2 separate regions of the Homo sapiens genome follow, and region 2 is linked to region 1. The links are contacts of gene promoters, found by promoter capture Hi-C in blood cells and fetal thymus (Javierre and others, 2016). All regions are on one chromosome and are shown on one strand. Each heading gives the region's core, a stretch centred on a gene start or on the middle of the fragment in contact. The rest is flanking DNA. Distances are from core to core; before and after follow the strand shown. Region 1 holds the start of LIMS1 (LIM zinc finger domain containing 1). Region 2 overlaps SOWAHC (sosondowah ankyrin repeat domain family member C).

What was found. The method cuts DNA at HindIII sites, captures the fragments that hold promoters and counts their contacts. A CHiCAGO score of 5 or more calls a contact.
Region 2: a contact is called between a fragment that was not itself captured here and the fragment with the promoter of LIMS1 in region 1, in 2 of 17 cell types (fetal thymus and total B cells). The highest score is 6.8, in fetal thymus.

What each region holds. Positions count from the first base shown.
Region 1 is chr2:108,531,696-108,539,253 of GRCh38, forward strand. LIMS1 (LIM zinc finger domain containing 1) reads left to right here and starts at 2,775. Exons shown (of 10, transcript NM_001193483.3): 1 at 2,775-2,899. The coding sequence starts at 2,868. GCC2-AS1 (GCC2 antisense RNA 1) reads right to left here and starts at 2,524. Exons shown (of 3, transcript NR_135290.1): 1 at 2,134-2,524. RefSeq lists silencers at 1,638-1,932, 2,421-3,020. The HindIII fragment of the contact is 7,547 bases long and covers 1-4,030 here.
Region 2 is chr2:109,616,189-109,623,746 of GRCh38, forward strand. SOWAHC (sosondowah ankyrin repeat domain family member C) reads left to right here. Exons shown (of 1, transcript NM_023016.4): 1 at 1-2,802. It also overlaps a transcript of RANBP2 not described here. Among named protein-coding and RNA genes, the nearest start is that of SOWAHC, 5.6 kb to the left of the region's middle. The HindIII fragment of the contact is 3,861 bases long and covers 1,015-4,875 here.

The sequences.
Region 1 (7,558 bases), core at 1,525-4,024:
TTTTCAATTTTAAAAAACTTTTTTATTACAGAAATGTTCACATATACACTAAAGTAGACAAGCTAATATAAAGAATGTAATGTATTTATGAGGTAGTTTCAAGTTATCAACCCACATTCCCCACCCCTACATTTTAAAGTAAATTTCAGTGATGTCATTTAGTGTACAGATAGTTGCCTAGGGACCTTTAAAATTTGTTCTTTCTTTTTTCTTTTTTTTTTTTTTTTGAATCGGGGTCTCACTCTGTCACCCAGGCTGCAGTGCAGTGGTGCAATTATAGCTGGCTGGAACTACAGGTGCACGCCACCATGCCCAGCTAATTTTTAATTTTTTTTTTTTGTAGAGACAAGGCAGGGGGGTCTCCCTTTTCTTCCCAGGCTGGTCTTGGACTCCTAACCTCAAGGGATCCTCCTGCTTCGACCTCCAAAAGTGCTGGGATTACAGGTGTGAGCCACCATGCCCAAATTTGTACATTCTTTTGGTGTACATATAAGAATACATTTGTAAGATAAATTCCAAAATATGAATATCTTGGGTCAAAGAAGAGCTGAATTTTACATTGATAGCTATTGCCCACTTGTTCTTTACAAAGCGTGTATGGATTTATACTCCTATCAACAATAAATTAGCCAGGCATGCTGACGTGCACTCGTAAACCCTGCTATTCAAAAGGATAGTTGAAGTCCAAGAGTTCAAGACCAGTGTGGGTAACATAGAGAGGCCTCCTCTAGGGGAGGAAAAAAGGGTTTCCCTATATCCTCATCAAAACAATATATAGTCAAACTTTTCATCTTTGCATTTGTGAAAAATTGTATTTTATTTTTGTTTTATGATACTTTAAGAAATCATTTGTATTTTTCTGTAGAAACCTGTTTTTCTCTGAGTTGAACATTTTTGTACTGATTTTTTTAATAATTAGAACTTTTTTAATAATTTAGAACTTTTTGTCATACATTTTACAAATATTTTTCTTGGTTGGGGTTTGTTATATTTATTTGCTATGCAGAAAATTTAGATTTCTATGTAGTTACATTTATCAATTTTTATTTATTTATTTAGAGACAGAGTCTTGCTCTGTCGCCCAGGCTGGACTGCAATGGCGCGATCTCGGCTCACTGCAACCTCTGTCTCCCAGGTTCAAGTAATTCTCCTGCCTCAGCCTCCCAAGTAGCTGGGATTACAGGAACCCCGCCACCACAACCGGTGAAATTTTTGTATTTTTATTAGAGACGGGGTTTCACCATGTTGGTCAGGCTGGTCTCAAACTCCTGACCTCAGGTGATCCACTCACCTCAGCCTCTCCAAGTGCTGGGATTACACGCGTGAGTCACCGTGCCCGGCCTACATTTATCAATTTTTAATTTTATGGTTTATATGCTCTTTGAAAAGTCTCTCACCACTCCAACCTTACTTTTGTTTTTTTCCCTTGTTTTCTTCTGGTATTTTCATAACCTCTCTCTTTTTTTTTTTTTTTTTTTTTGTTTTTTGAACATTTAACTATTTGCTTTGTTTGGAATTTACTTTCATGTGAGGACATCAAATAGATCCAGTGTTTTCCTCCGACATGCCTCGACTGGCAGGAGACCAAAGTTTTCATTCTATTACTAGAGAGTAGCTATAGTTACAGAATCAGGTATCCTGAGAGAGATCATTTATGCCCAGGATGAATAACTTGTCTTATCTATTAAATCTATTAAATCCTTTGGAGATTTCACTTTTTTTTTTTTTTTTTTTTGGGACGGAGCCTGTTACCTAGGCTGGAGTGCAGTGGCGCGATCTCCCAGCTCACCACAAGCTCCGCCTCCCAAGTTCAAGCGATTCTCCTGCCTCAGCCTCTCGAGTAGCTGGGATTACAGGCATGTGCCACCACCACGCCCGGCTAATTTTGTATTTTTAGTAGAGACGGGGTTTCTCCATGTTGGTCAGGCTGGTCTCGAACTCCTGACCTCAGGTGATCCGCCTGCCTCAGCCTCCCAAAGTGCTGGGATTACAGGCGTGAGCCACTGCGCCGGCCCCAAAATTTCAGGTTTTGATAGACGGAATGGGTGAAGAAAATGAGAGCTAGCAAGGAAGAACAGGATGCAGAGGCAAGACTGGAAACTCTCCAAGAAAGGTTAACTTTTCTTAACTCACAAGTTAAACAAAGGCTGCAGGCTCCATGCGGAGCTCAGGCACCCAGCGGTGACCGATCCAGACCAGGTCCTCCCGGAAGCCCGGCCTGCCCGACAGAGCCTTACCACAGAGCCCCCTCAGGCGTCCTCGCCAGGACGGGGCGGAACCCTGTGTAGCTCCCACCCCCGGGACGAAGGCCGCTGCCAGGGCCGCGCAGCCACGCGAGTGGAATCAGAGGAGCCTCGAGGCAAGGAGAGCCGGGCCCCGCTCCCTGCGCCCGTCACCGCCATCCTTGTTGTAGGGAACTCGGCCCCCGAGCCGCCGCCGCGCTCCGTGGGCTCCCAATGAGCCCCTACCCCAGCCACCCGCTGCGTTTGCGCCAGCCTCCCAGACTAGCCTGGGGTGCTGAAATGGGGGCGGGCCCGAGCCACGGGTTGGGGCGGGGTCTGATGCGCGCCCCGCCCCGCAACGCCCCGCCCCCCCGCGCCTACCTCTCCAGTCCGCGCCCTTCGGCGCCCGCCCCGCCAGTCCCCGCCCCTCCTTGCCCAGCCGCTCCCGCCCCTCCCCCGCCTTCCCGCGCGGCCCGCCTCGCCTTCCCCCCCCTCCCGCGCCCCCGCGCGGCCGGCCCCTGGCCTTCCTCCCCTTCCTGCTCCGGGCCCGCCAGTAGCCGGCCGCGGCGGCGAGGGACTAGGACGCGGCTGGAGCGGCGCCGGGAGACGAGGGGCTGAGAGACGGCGGCGGCCGAAAGCGGAGAGATGCTGGGCGTGGCGGCCGGGATGACCCACAGGTACGGGCCGCACCGCGCGGCCCCCGCCACGTCCGCCCCGCAGCTCCCGGCGGGCCTTCGGGCCGGGCCGGGCCGGGCCTGGCGCGGGCGGGCGGCCGGGCTTTCCCCGCGGCCTCCCCCGGTCGGCCGGAGCCCCGACCCCCAGCGCTCGGGTGGCGGCGTGGCTGCGTCCGGGCCCGCGGAGGAGACGGCTGCTGTTCACTCCCGGGTGTCCGCGGTGGCACAGGCGCTGACGCCGCCCCGCTGCTCCGAGAGTTCCATAAGACAAATCAGTATTTGCCGAGCTAATCATTTATCTTCTAGCAGTAGGGATCAGCGGGTCGCAGACGTCTTGGTCTCAGGACCCCTCTTGGGACTAGAGGACCTGGAATGGTGGCTATCTCCATAGACTGTACTAGAAAGGAAAACCGAGACACTGAAGTTACTATTAACTCATTGAATAAATCCGTGGTATGTTAACGTACATACCACATTTTTATGCAACATAGGGTTTTGCTAAAACAAAAGAGTTCGTGGGACGACTGGCGTCCTTTACAGTTTGCGAATCTCTTGAGTTGTCTGACTTAGTAGAGACAACTACGTTCTCCCATCTCCTTTGCAGTTCAGTCTGTTGCGGTATGTTTTTATATGAAGAAAATCTGATCTTACACAGATGTGTAGTTGGAAAAGTGAGTACTGTCTTAATAGCTGTTTCAGATAATTATGGGTATTCTTTATTACTACACCAAAACTACGTAAGTGGAAGTTTCTCAAAGGCTGGTTTGGACGTGGAATCTGAAGCTACTGTCAGCGGACTTTTCACACAGTTTCGTTAAAATTCCTTGGTCTGTCTTGCAGTTTGAATGCAGCTAAAGCTCCTGTCAGTGGCCTTTGCACACAGTTACGTTAAAATTCCTTGGTCTGTCTTGCAGTTTGAATGCAGCTGTTACCCATTGTAACACCATATATTTGTCGTTTGGAAGATATTGGCTCACTGAGTTTGGCAGATCTCAAGCTGACGCATTTCATTAATAGCGCCGAATAACATTCGTTACCATCGCTATTGATTTCATTAGGAAAGTCTTTATGTTAAAAGCCGTCAGATACAAGGTGGTGTTTACAAGTTTTCCAAAATTCTCATTTTCGGTTGAAAGCTTGCTTTTTATCATTGGGAGCAAAATATTGTCAATTGTTTTCCTCAAAGTGACAGACTCACTTTGTTCAGTTTCAAGGAAGTGTCCGGCAATACAGGTTTAAATAACCCTAGTTTGTCAGTTGTTCTTTCCCGTAAAAATGGTATTTCATGACACAAGCAAGTTAATTCAGCTCATCGCTCTATTACAGAAGTGCACGCCTGCCATTTGGTCACAAGTAACAAAAAAGAGTCAAAGCTCAAGATTTGATAACAATAATTTGTACTCCTTCATCATGGACTTTTTTCCTTAAAAAAAAGTATTGACTAGTAAGTTGATATAAAATTTAAAGTATTTGTGAGATATTAAGAATAACGGATATGTAGTGTAATAAAGGAGATAATAGTTTCCTTTTAAGACCTTCAAACCTCTCTGGTCCAGTGTCTCTCCGCATCCTATCCCCTTCCCATCCTGAATTTACCATTAGTAATTTACTTTTTGGAGGGAGAGTAATAAGTTCATTCAAATTATTGTGCATCCGTAACCATCATACATGTCCAGAAATCTTTATCTTACAAAACTGAAACTCTGTACCTATTAAACAATAATTCTCCATTCCCCTCCTCCCGCCAGTCCCTGGCAGCCATCATTTTAATTTCTGTCTATGACTTTGACTACTGCTGGTACCTCATATCTCATGTAAGTGGAATCATACGCTATTTGTTGTGCATGTCATAGTTTGTTCCTTTTTGTTGCTCAGTAGTGCTCCATGGTATGGATGTACAGCAGTTTAACTGTTCACATGTTTGAAGGACATTCAGGCTGTTAGTTTTGGGCTATTAAGAAAGCTACTACGAACAAATAGACAGGTGTTTGTTGTTGTTTTTGAGACAGTGTCTTGCTTAGTCACCCAGACTGGAGTGGAATGCAGTAGCATGATCATGACTTACTGCACCCTAGACCTCCCAGGCTGAAGCAATCCTTCCACCTCAGTCCCCCAAGTAGCTGGGACTACAGACACACGCCACCATGCCTGGATAATTTTTGTATTTTTTTGGTAGAAACAGGGTTTCGCCATGTTGTCCAGGCTAGTCTGGGGGTCCCAAACTCCTGGGTTCCAGCAGTCCACCCACCTCAGCCTCCCAAAGTGCTGGAATTTTAGAGCCACTGTGCTCAGCCTGTCTAAGTTTTATGTGAATGTAACTTTTCCTTTTCTGGGATAAATGTCCAAGAGTGTGCAATTGGCAGGTTGTACAGAAATCGTATGTTTAGTTTTTTGAGAAACTGACAGTTTTTTTCCAGCATGACTGTACCATTTCACTTAAAAAGTGAAATTGACATTATTTTCCTGTGAGTACATAAAGGTAAAGAATTCAGGGACAGTACCACGGCCCTCTTTAGTGCTAAGCGGCCAGCAGTTGTACCGACTGTTGTTTTTGCACTATCTGTGTGTCAACACAGTCCACAATGCTACAGTGACTTCTTAGGAATATCTTAGTATGATGAAAATAGTTTTGATCTCTCGGATCCCTTAGAAAGGTCTTGGAGACCCTCAGGAGTTCAAGGCCATACTTTAAGAACCACTGTTAAAGACATAATCCTAAATGATGAAGGATATGCAGGTATTGGGGATATTTAAAAAGGAACAAATACAAGGTTTCTCTTAAAATTGCTCTTGAATGCTTGTGGTAGTGTGTGCCTTGTAGTTTTGGCTAGTTTTAGTAGGATGTAATAACTAAGACTTGGACCACCATGGAAGAAGCAACTTTCTGCCTTTCAGGATTTTCCCTGATAAGAAAATGGCCAGTGCCATTATGAAGAGGGACAATGCCATGGGCCTAAGTGTATTCACACTTTTCAGTGCTCTGTGCCTGTTTGTATGGTGAGAAAATCGAACTGTTGATTTTTAAGAAAGCTAAGGAAAGTTTGGTGGTACAAAAGATCATTTCAGTTCTGGTGGTTCCGGTTTTTGCAGGCTTAGAGAAAACTGTCCATCAGGATTGTGCTGTCTTGATTTTATTTGATCATTCCCACCCTTTTCCCTTTGCTGTAGCCCCTTGACCTGTCTCCTGGGCAGTTCTTTCCTTTGCTAAATGTGAGTACAACAAGTAGGCTTTCCTTTCCTCCTAGAGAGGGGGACCTTGGAGCCCCTCCACTGGGTCAGAGAAACTTCCATAGCTGCAGCAGATCAGTAACAGGAGAGCCGAGCTTTACTCTGAAAGCCTCTATTTTCAATAATGTTGTGTTTGCTCTTTGGATAATCATTTAAATAAATAAACCTCAGTATAGGTCATGTTCTTACCTAGGTTTGCACTTAAATAGAAGGAAAAACATCTCAAACCATTTTGTTAGTTTTATAGTTCTCGTAACTACACTTTAAGCTGTGGTTTTCCACCCACAGGGATGTCATCTACATTATATGCTGGACTGTTGCCACATTGTCTTCCAAAAACTTTAATTTTAAGACACTTGAGAAGCAGGAGCTGCACTACCTGTTGCCATATACTGTGCATTCTTCAGCAACAGAGGTTTCCTTTTCACTCTTTCTGATATAATCTCATCTCTTTTATTTGATCATATCACACATTTCCACCCTGGAGCTTACTGCAGGAATGAGTAAGGGAGTCATTTTCCTGCATCTTTTTTCACGTTGGAGCACGTTTTGGAGCTTGATGAGTCTTCAGTGACATTTAACAGTGGGGCGGGACAGCTGCAGATAAAGCAAGTGCTGAAGAGTGCATTCTGTGAGAGGTAGGAAGAAAGGTGAAGGCAGTAGTTCAGCTGCTGGGAGTATGTGCTTGGCAGTGGGAGGCACGGGACTCAGCATCAGCACACCAGGAATCCAGGGCTTTCAGGATGTCTGAGTAGCAGGCAAGGTAAAGCAAGATAACAGACAACATGCATTTACAAGTAATGTTTACACATACTTTCCCTTTCTACAAAAATGGAATCATAGTCATACTATTCTGCAATTGCTTTTTTTAGTATTAAAAAAGTTACGGGAAAACATGCAAAACAAAATTTACTATTTTAACCATTTTTGAGTGTACAGTTCTGTGGCATTATGTACATTGACGTTGCTGTGCAACCATCACTACCCTTCCTTCCAAGAACTTTTTCATCTTCCCAAACTGAAACTCTGTGACCAGTAAATACCAACTCCCCATTTCTTGCAATTGCTTTTTTACTTCAACAAGCTGTCTTAGAGCGGTGTATCTGGGTTTACCTTATGTTTTTTAACCTTAGTTTTAATGGCTGCATAGTATTTCACAGTGTACATGTGATATGATTTGTACATCCAGTCCTTGACTAGTGGTTATTTGGGTTCTATTTTTTAATTATCACAAACACTTTGAACATCTCTGCCAGAGTGTTTTTTGTTTTGTTTTGTTTTTGAGACAAGGTCTCACTCTGTCACCCAGGCTGGAGTAAAGTGGTGCAATCATGGCTCACTGCAGCCTCAACCTCCTGGGGTCAGGTGATCCTTTCACCTTAGACTTCTGAGTAGCTGGGACAACAGGTACATGCCACTATGCCCGGCTAATAT
Region 2 (7,558 bases), core at 1,695-4,194, 1.1 Mb after region 1:
ATGGATGGGGCGGAGTTCTCTTCAGGCTAGCCTTCTGGGAAAAGTGGATGTCTTTTTCAGAGATTCATCATACCTTGACCTGTACCTCTTCTCTGCCCTCCACTTCCCTGCCCTGGAGTCCGTTTCTGGAGACTAGAAATGTATCTAAATTGGGGGAACAGAATGAATGAATTAATGAATGAGAGTTCCTTTGCTTTAACCATTCCTGGATGCCTGCAAAGTAAGGAATAATGCAGTTTTTATGTATCTGATTTTATAAGGGGTTACTCTTTCAAGAGTAACAAAAAAATGCAAACTGTAATGAAACTACATTGTATTTCTAAGTGTGAAAACGACAGGCTGCCCCGTTTTTACTAATTGCATTTGCATTTTAAGGTACTACTGAAGGTCAGATCAAAGTTGAAATGCAAAAATACTAATTAGAGAATAATGTGAATAAAATGGGAATCTTCTTGGTATTTTATGTGTATTGTAAGTAGCAGTTAAATTATTTTTTTAAAAGCAATTTCAGTTTTAATCACTGAACAAAAGAAACAGGCAACATTCACTTCTGTAGTATGGTTTCCACCTATCTCTAACACCACTATTAAGGTACACCAGTGTTAAGGTACATTAATAACTACACAAAATTTTATTTAAAGAGAACACTTAGCAGCCTATGATAGTTTTCAATAAAATGTTGCCTCTCTTTCGGATTCTCACTAACTTTTGTTACTATTCTAAAAGTTTGAATTTGCTGGGGTGTTTATTCTGAGGATTATTTAACCATTGTTCTATTTGGCATAACCCTATTTAATGGTGCTTAGAGCTGAATTACCTACAGAAACTGTTTCTGGTTTAAATAATTAGCACAAATTGGCCTAAGTATTCATGAGCCCATGTTTCTGTGAAGTAATTATTAAACCAACTTAATGATTCTTATGTAAGGTACACTTTTTATTTTAATACATTGGTAGTCTCTATGACTTGTAGCAATGTTTTACAAATGTTTAAAATGCTAAACTTAATTTTCCAAGCTTTTCTTGACAATTAGATACCTATCCTGTAGTTACTGAAAATCTGGGTAGTAAATCTACCCAATTAAAATGGCACTTTATAAAAGGGAATAGAGAAGAGATGGGACTATTTCTATATTTAAATGCTGCTGGCTATTCCTTTGTATATAAATGAAAAATACCATTCATTAAAATTAAGTACTCGTTTAAGTATGGTTCTTAATTACATTTCATTCATTTATATTAGAGTAAATGGCTTCATAACTACTTTAAAATTTAACCCACAAGCATATTAAATCTGTTTGTTATAAGATTGGAAACAATTTTTGAGAGGGACTAATTTAAACAAGTCCTCCTTTAGTCTTTTGGGTCGCGTAGTTGCTGAAACCTAAGTACCTGCAGCCTACAGGATAAGGAAGTTCACAGCCTGCGGGGTGAATGAACCCATGTGTGAACTGCACAGAGCAATTCATAGAAAATGCATAGAAATTTGTAACACTTTGGTCACATCTGTCTCTAGATGGTCATTGAATTTGTTTAAAGATGGATGAAAGGCCAGGCATGGTGGCTCATGCCTGTAATCCCAGCACTTTGGGAGGCCGAGGCAGGTGGATCACTTGAGGCCAGGAGTTTGAAACCAGCCTGGCCAACATGGTGAAAACCTGTCTCTACTAAAAATACAAAAATTAGCCGAGCGTGGTGGTGCGTGCCTGTAGTCCCAGCTACTTAGGAGGCTGAGGCATGAGAATCACTTAAACCTGAGAGGTGGAGGTTGCAGTTGAGCCAAGATCACGACACTGCACTCCAGCCTGGGCAACGGAGACTCTGTCTCAAAAAAAAAAAAAAAAAAGATGAATGAAAATATGAAATATATAAACTAGTATCCATTTATTTGCATTTATTGTGGGATTTCAGATATGAACGGTGTAAATTTGAGAAGCACTTATGCATACATGTGGGTGAAAAACCAATCTAATTTTGTATAAATAAAAACAGGCTCCTGGAAGGTGAAAAGTAGTCATTTGTTCTAAATCTATACATATTACTTGTATCTAGTGCAGAATAAGCTATAACATCCCATTGAGGAATCTTAAATTTCATAGACATGTAAAGCTGAAGTAACTCTAAAGAGCAGATGCTTCAGAACCATCAGAAGGTTCTGGTCAACAGTCAGTATTATCTCTTAAATGTATATGTTGGTCACTAATTGCACAAAATCTATAATTTGCCAGGGCTTTAGAGATTGAGTCAATATGTCATTTACCATGGTTTTCCCACTGAAGGCTTTAACTTTTCTGATAAAATAATATTTTAAATTTTCAAAAACCCATTCCTGAGGAGAACTACTTCTAGCATTCCTTTTCATGATGTGCTTTTGTGCAGTAAGTAGCATTTTCGGCTACTTAACTTTACATTCCTCTTATTTTTCAGTTTCCAGTCAAGATTATAAAAAGCAAATGATTGATATAATTTGATATTCATAGAGTTGTGCCTACCTTTAATGGAAAAATACATGTCAGATACTTAGATGTTTATTGATATGAGACTATGTGGTTAAAAAACCCAAGTATGTCCATGTGTTTCTTATAAGGTACACTTGAAACTAGTGAGTGTTTGTCACATTTCACTTTCATGGTATATAAAATGCAGTTTGCATATATAACTTGAATATCTGGTACTAGTTTTTTCACGCCTGCAATCTTGGAGTCTAGGTTGCCTTGTCTCTCCTATTTTTAAATAAGTGAAATTTGGGAGATTGTAAAATCTGTAAAGTTTGTTTTGTGAAAATAAAATGTTCACAGTAGAATTTTTCTCTGAATTGTCTAAGTTTCTGTCGTCCTTTAGACTTTTTACATATACTGTGTTTTACAGTTCACAAAATGCTTTTTGAAGTTTCAGTTTATTTGACCCTTTTCCTATCCCTTAAGATTATGGGCCATATATTGTTGACTTACAGATAAGAAAATAGAGGTTAATGGTTGTTCAGGGTCACACAGTAAAAAGCTGTTAGTAAGATTATAAGAGTCAGGGCTTTCCCACAACGTTATCTTTTCTGCACATTGAATTGCCACATTTTTAGCAAAACTGCTGTAGTTTGGCACCAGTGATGGAGGAATCAACTTGGAGAGAAGGTAATACCTCCACCACTACCTAAAAAAAAGCTGTATGGGTTTTGCACACACCATCTGCCATAAACCTGCCCTACCCAGGGCTGACTTCAAGACAGGTGTAGGAATACCGTTTTTCATTTTTCAGCCTCTGTGAAGCATTGAGAGTTAATTACCTCATCAAGGCTTCCTGTGATCTGTATTTTTAGCAAAATTCAACTCTGTTGAATGGCAAAGGGATGTGGTACTCCTTTGGTGTAATCGCCCACTATTGCTCTATCCGGGAGATCCCACTGTGATGGCTGCTGGGGTTATTCTTGTTTTATGATAACCCATAAAATATTTTTCAGGATCACTGAAAGACTAGATAAGTAGTTTGTTTTTCTAGAATAACTTCTTTCCTTAGAAGTACATGTCTTAAAAGGATTTATTAACCAGTTCACTTAAAGATATTTTTGAAATTTTCCTAGTAAAAATTATTTTTATTTTGCTAAGTAAATAGCATTATTTGGAGTTTCTTACATGATTAATTCCAGGATTAAATACTTGGAATTTGCTGTAAACCAGTATTCCTTCAATGATCACCCAAGTCTTCATAAATCACTGAATATTAGAGGGTTGGAAGATGACTCTACAGAAACTTGTTTCTCAAGATACAGAAGTCATGTGGTTCACATAACTACCTGCTTTTTCCATGAAGAACACTATACTTTTTTTCTCAATCTTCTCTTTAAATGTCAGTTTCATCTCAGTAAGTAGCTTTCCTATTCTGTTAACTAATAGCCTATTTTTCCACATCGATGCATTGGTAAGGAATGTGTGACAAATGTTCTACCCTTGCACAGTGCCTGGCATGTTGAAGGTACTCAGTAAGGGTCTTTTAATGGAAAACATTAAATATTTTATAATGTTACATAATATGGATAATTCAATTACATGCATTCATGCTATGTGAATAGTTTTTTTATATAACATGGCTCTTAAATACCAGCCTATCAGTTCATCTGCAGCTCAGCCAAAAGAACAGCAAGTTATTCCAATCCTGAAGATAAAATCAGCTTTATTAGAACTGTACTTCGTGAGCGATTTAAGAGATTTTCAAGAGTAAATTTGATTATAAGAAAATTTTGCTGGGCGTGGTGGCTCACGCATGTAATCCCAGCACTTTGGGAGGCCGAGGCAGGAGCATCGCCTGAGGTCAGGAGTTCAAGACCAGCCTGGCCAACATGGTGAAACCCAGTCTCTACAAAAAATACACAAATTAGCTGAGCATGGTGGTGCATGCCTGTAATCCCAGCTACTTGGGAGGCTAAGGCAGGAGAATCACTTGAACCCGGGAGGCGGAGGTTGCAGTGAGCTGAGATTGTGCCACTGCACTCCAGCCTGGGCATCACAGCGACTCTGTCTCAAAAAAAAAATAGAAAGAAAGAAAGTTTCCTTACAAGCTGACTCAAGTCCAAGACCTGTAGGAGAAATTATTCTAATTGGCCTTAAATAGTCTAAGTACTGTCAGGTATACAAATGACTACTTATTCTGTGAAATCCCAAAGAGCAAATGAATAGGGAAATGAAGTTTAGTTTAACATGGAGAACTTTCTAATAATCATTTTAAACATACCATGGACTGCCTTGTGAGATAGAACATTCAGCCTTTGGAAATGTGTCAGAGGTTGCATGAGCACCTGAAAATTTAAAATAGATCATTTTAAAGCACACTTGTGACCAGTTCTGTCTCAAGAAACACTGCTCTAAACCATATTCATTCTGACCAAAGCTTTGGCCAAAAGCAGCCTAACTTAGGATAAAGTTAACCAGTGCTTTGCCAGTGGTATAAAGTAGAATCATATAAGTTGTTGGTTTGTTGTTGTTGTTTTCTTTTTGAGATGGAGTCTTGCTCTGTTGCCAGGCTGGAGTGCAGTGGCGTGATCTTGGCTCACTGCAACCTCTGCCTCTCCGGTTCAAGCGATTTCCCTGCCTCAGCCTCCCGAGTAGCTGGGACTACAGTCGCGCGCCACTACGCCCAGATAATTTTTTGTATTTTAATAGAGACGGGGTTTCACCATGTTGGCCAGGATGGTCTCGATCTCCTGACCTCGTGATCTGCCCACCTCGGCTTCCTAAAAGTGCTGGGATTACATGTGTGAGCCACTTTTTTTTTTAACCCAACTTTATGCTATTCTGATCAAAGAACCTGGGAGCCCTCCATTAGAATAGTCTTCTGGATCTCTAAGAAACTTTGAATATAATAGTTTAGAAACATAATTGAGCATTCTTGAGATTTGTCCAGAAATTTCTGATATTGATGTTGGATCTTTGAATTTGCATTTAAGAGGCAATGATGGCCAGGTGCGGTGGCCTACACCTGTAATCCCAGCACTTTGGGAGGCCAAGGCAGGTGAATCACGAGGTTAGGAGTTCGAGACCAGCCTGGCCAACATAATGAAACCCCATCTCTACTAAAAATACAAAATATTAGCTAGGCATAGTGGTGGGCACATGTAATCCCAGCTGCTTGGGAGGCTGAGGCAGGATAATCTCTTTAACCCGGGAGGCGGAGGTTGCAGTGAGCTGAGATTGCACCACTGTACTCCAGCCTGGTCCACAGAGTGAGACTCCATCTCAAAAATAAATAAATAAATAAATAAATAAATAAAGAGGGAATTATTTGGTTGTAGTCAGTTCAGCACTATTGAGCAAAGAATCACCTTTGGCTTAGCCAGGTTTAGAATCACCTAGGTGCTGACATGGCAGCAAGACTAAGGTTAAGACTAAGACGGCTAAGACTTTCAGGAAGCTTACTATATATACCCGATGAGGTTTCAAGTACTTTATAAAAAGCAAGCTGTTTAACTCTCATAATACCCCTTCCCTGATTCTAGTACCTCACTTCTACTGATGGAGAACTGAAATGCAAAAACCCAAATAGCTGCTACTTGCCCAAGGTCACAAAGCTAGTTCTTAGCAGTTCAGCTTTGTGCTCAGGCAGACTGGCTCTAAGGTTTGTGGGAAGCCCTAGTGGTACAGGAAATACCACTTCTTTGGGAACATAAGAGACAGTCAACTGGCCTGAAGTTTATGGGGCTAGCACCTAATGAAGTACAAATGATACAGGAAATTCATACTATTGCAGAAGAGAGCAAACTAAGAACCAAAAACAAGCATTAATGATTGAGACAGATAATGACTTGAACACTCTGTTGTTACTTCACAGCAGTAGGGTTAGAACTGGATTTTTAGGGGTTTGCATTTTCCAGTGTCACCTAGGATCAAATTAATTTGGGTCAGGAAAGAATATTTCTTCAGCTCAGAATGGTGGAGCTGCTAAAATATTTGAGGTGTAGTTATATTTCTTTGTTTAGGCTCACCTCCCCTCTGTCCAGTCCCCTTTCACTTGTCTAAGCACTTAAGCATTAACGGAAGGGCTTAGCCCACTTCCACATAATCATGAGATTAAACGCCAGCGTAGAAGAAAACCAGCAACACGGCATCTGGTTTTCGTACTATACATTTATAAATTTGCAACCCACTAAAAGAATTTTGATAGTTCATTTTGAGGCCGGGCACAGTGGCTCATGCCTGTAATCCCAGCAATTTGGGAGGCTGAGGCAGGTGGATCACCTGAGGTCAGTAGTTCGAGACCAGCTGGCCAACATGGTGAAACCCTGTGTCTACTAAAACTACACAAATTAGCCAGGTGTGGTGGCACAGGCCTGTAATCCCAGCTACTCGGGAGGCTGAGAAAGAAGAATCACTTGAACCCAGGAGGCAGAGCTTGCACTGAGCTGAGATTGTGCCATTGCACTCCAGCCTGGGCAACAGAGTGAAACTCTGTCTCAAAAAAGAAAACAACAACAACAACAACAAAAAGATAGTTCATTTTGGCACAGGCGGGAGTGTTATGTTTGTTCTATCGGAATCTATTACAAAGGGTGCTATTTTCCCTGCCTGTAAATCCCTAGTGGCCTCTTCCTTGAGCCCATACCCACCCCCGGCCACTTGTCAGTGTCCTCCTCTGTGCCCCTGCATGTCCCTCTCTGGTGCACCACCAGTTTTCTTGCCCACTGTCCAACTGCTCTCCAGAGGGGATATCTCAGCCACACAGCTATCCTGAGCAGGCTTGTACTCGGGGGCTGTTTATGGGTTAACAGAATGAACAGCTCTTCTTGCCAGCTGGCCTCCTGCGGTCCGGACTCTGCCCCACAATTCTTGGATCTCTAAGAGGGTGACCTATCTGGAGCTTCCCCTGACTAAAACCCAGAGTGACCCCGATGGATGGCTTTTGGCAGGCGACTCCAGTTTCTGTGTGGTCAGGTGGAATTTGCCTAAAAGCTATCCCACTCTGATTATTCTTCCCAATGTCTGACCTTGAAATGGCTCATGGCTTAAGGTGTGCACCCAGGTGGGTGCTGTGAGAGAATTCTGTCCAGGAAAGAGAATGCTTTGGTCCGTAATCAA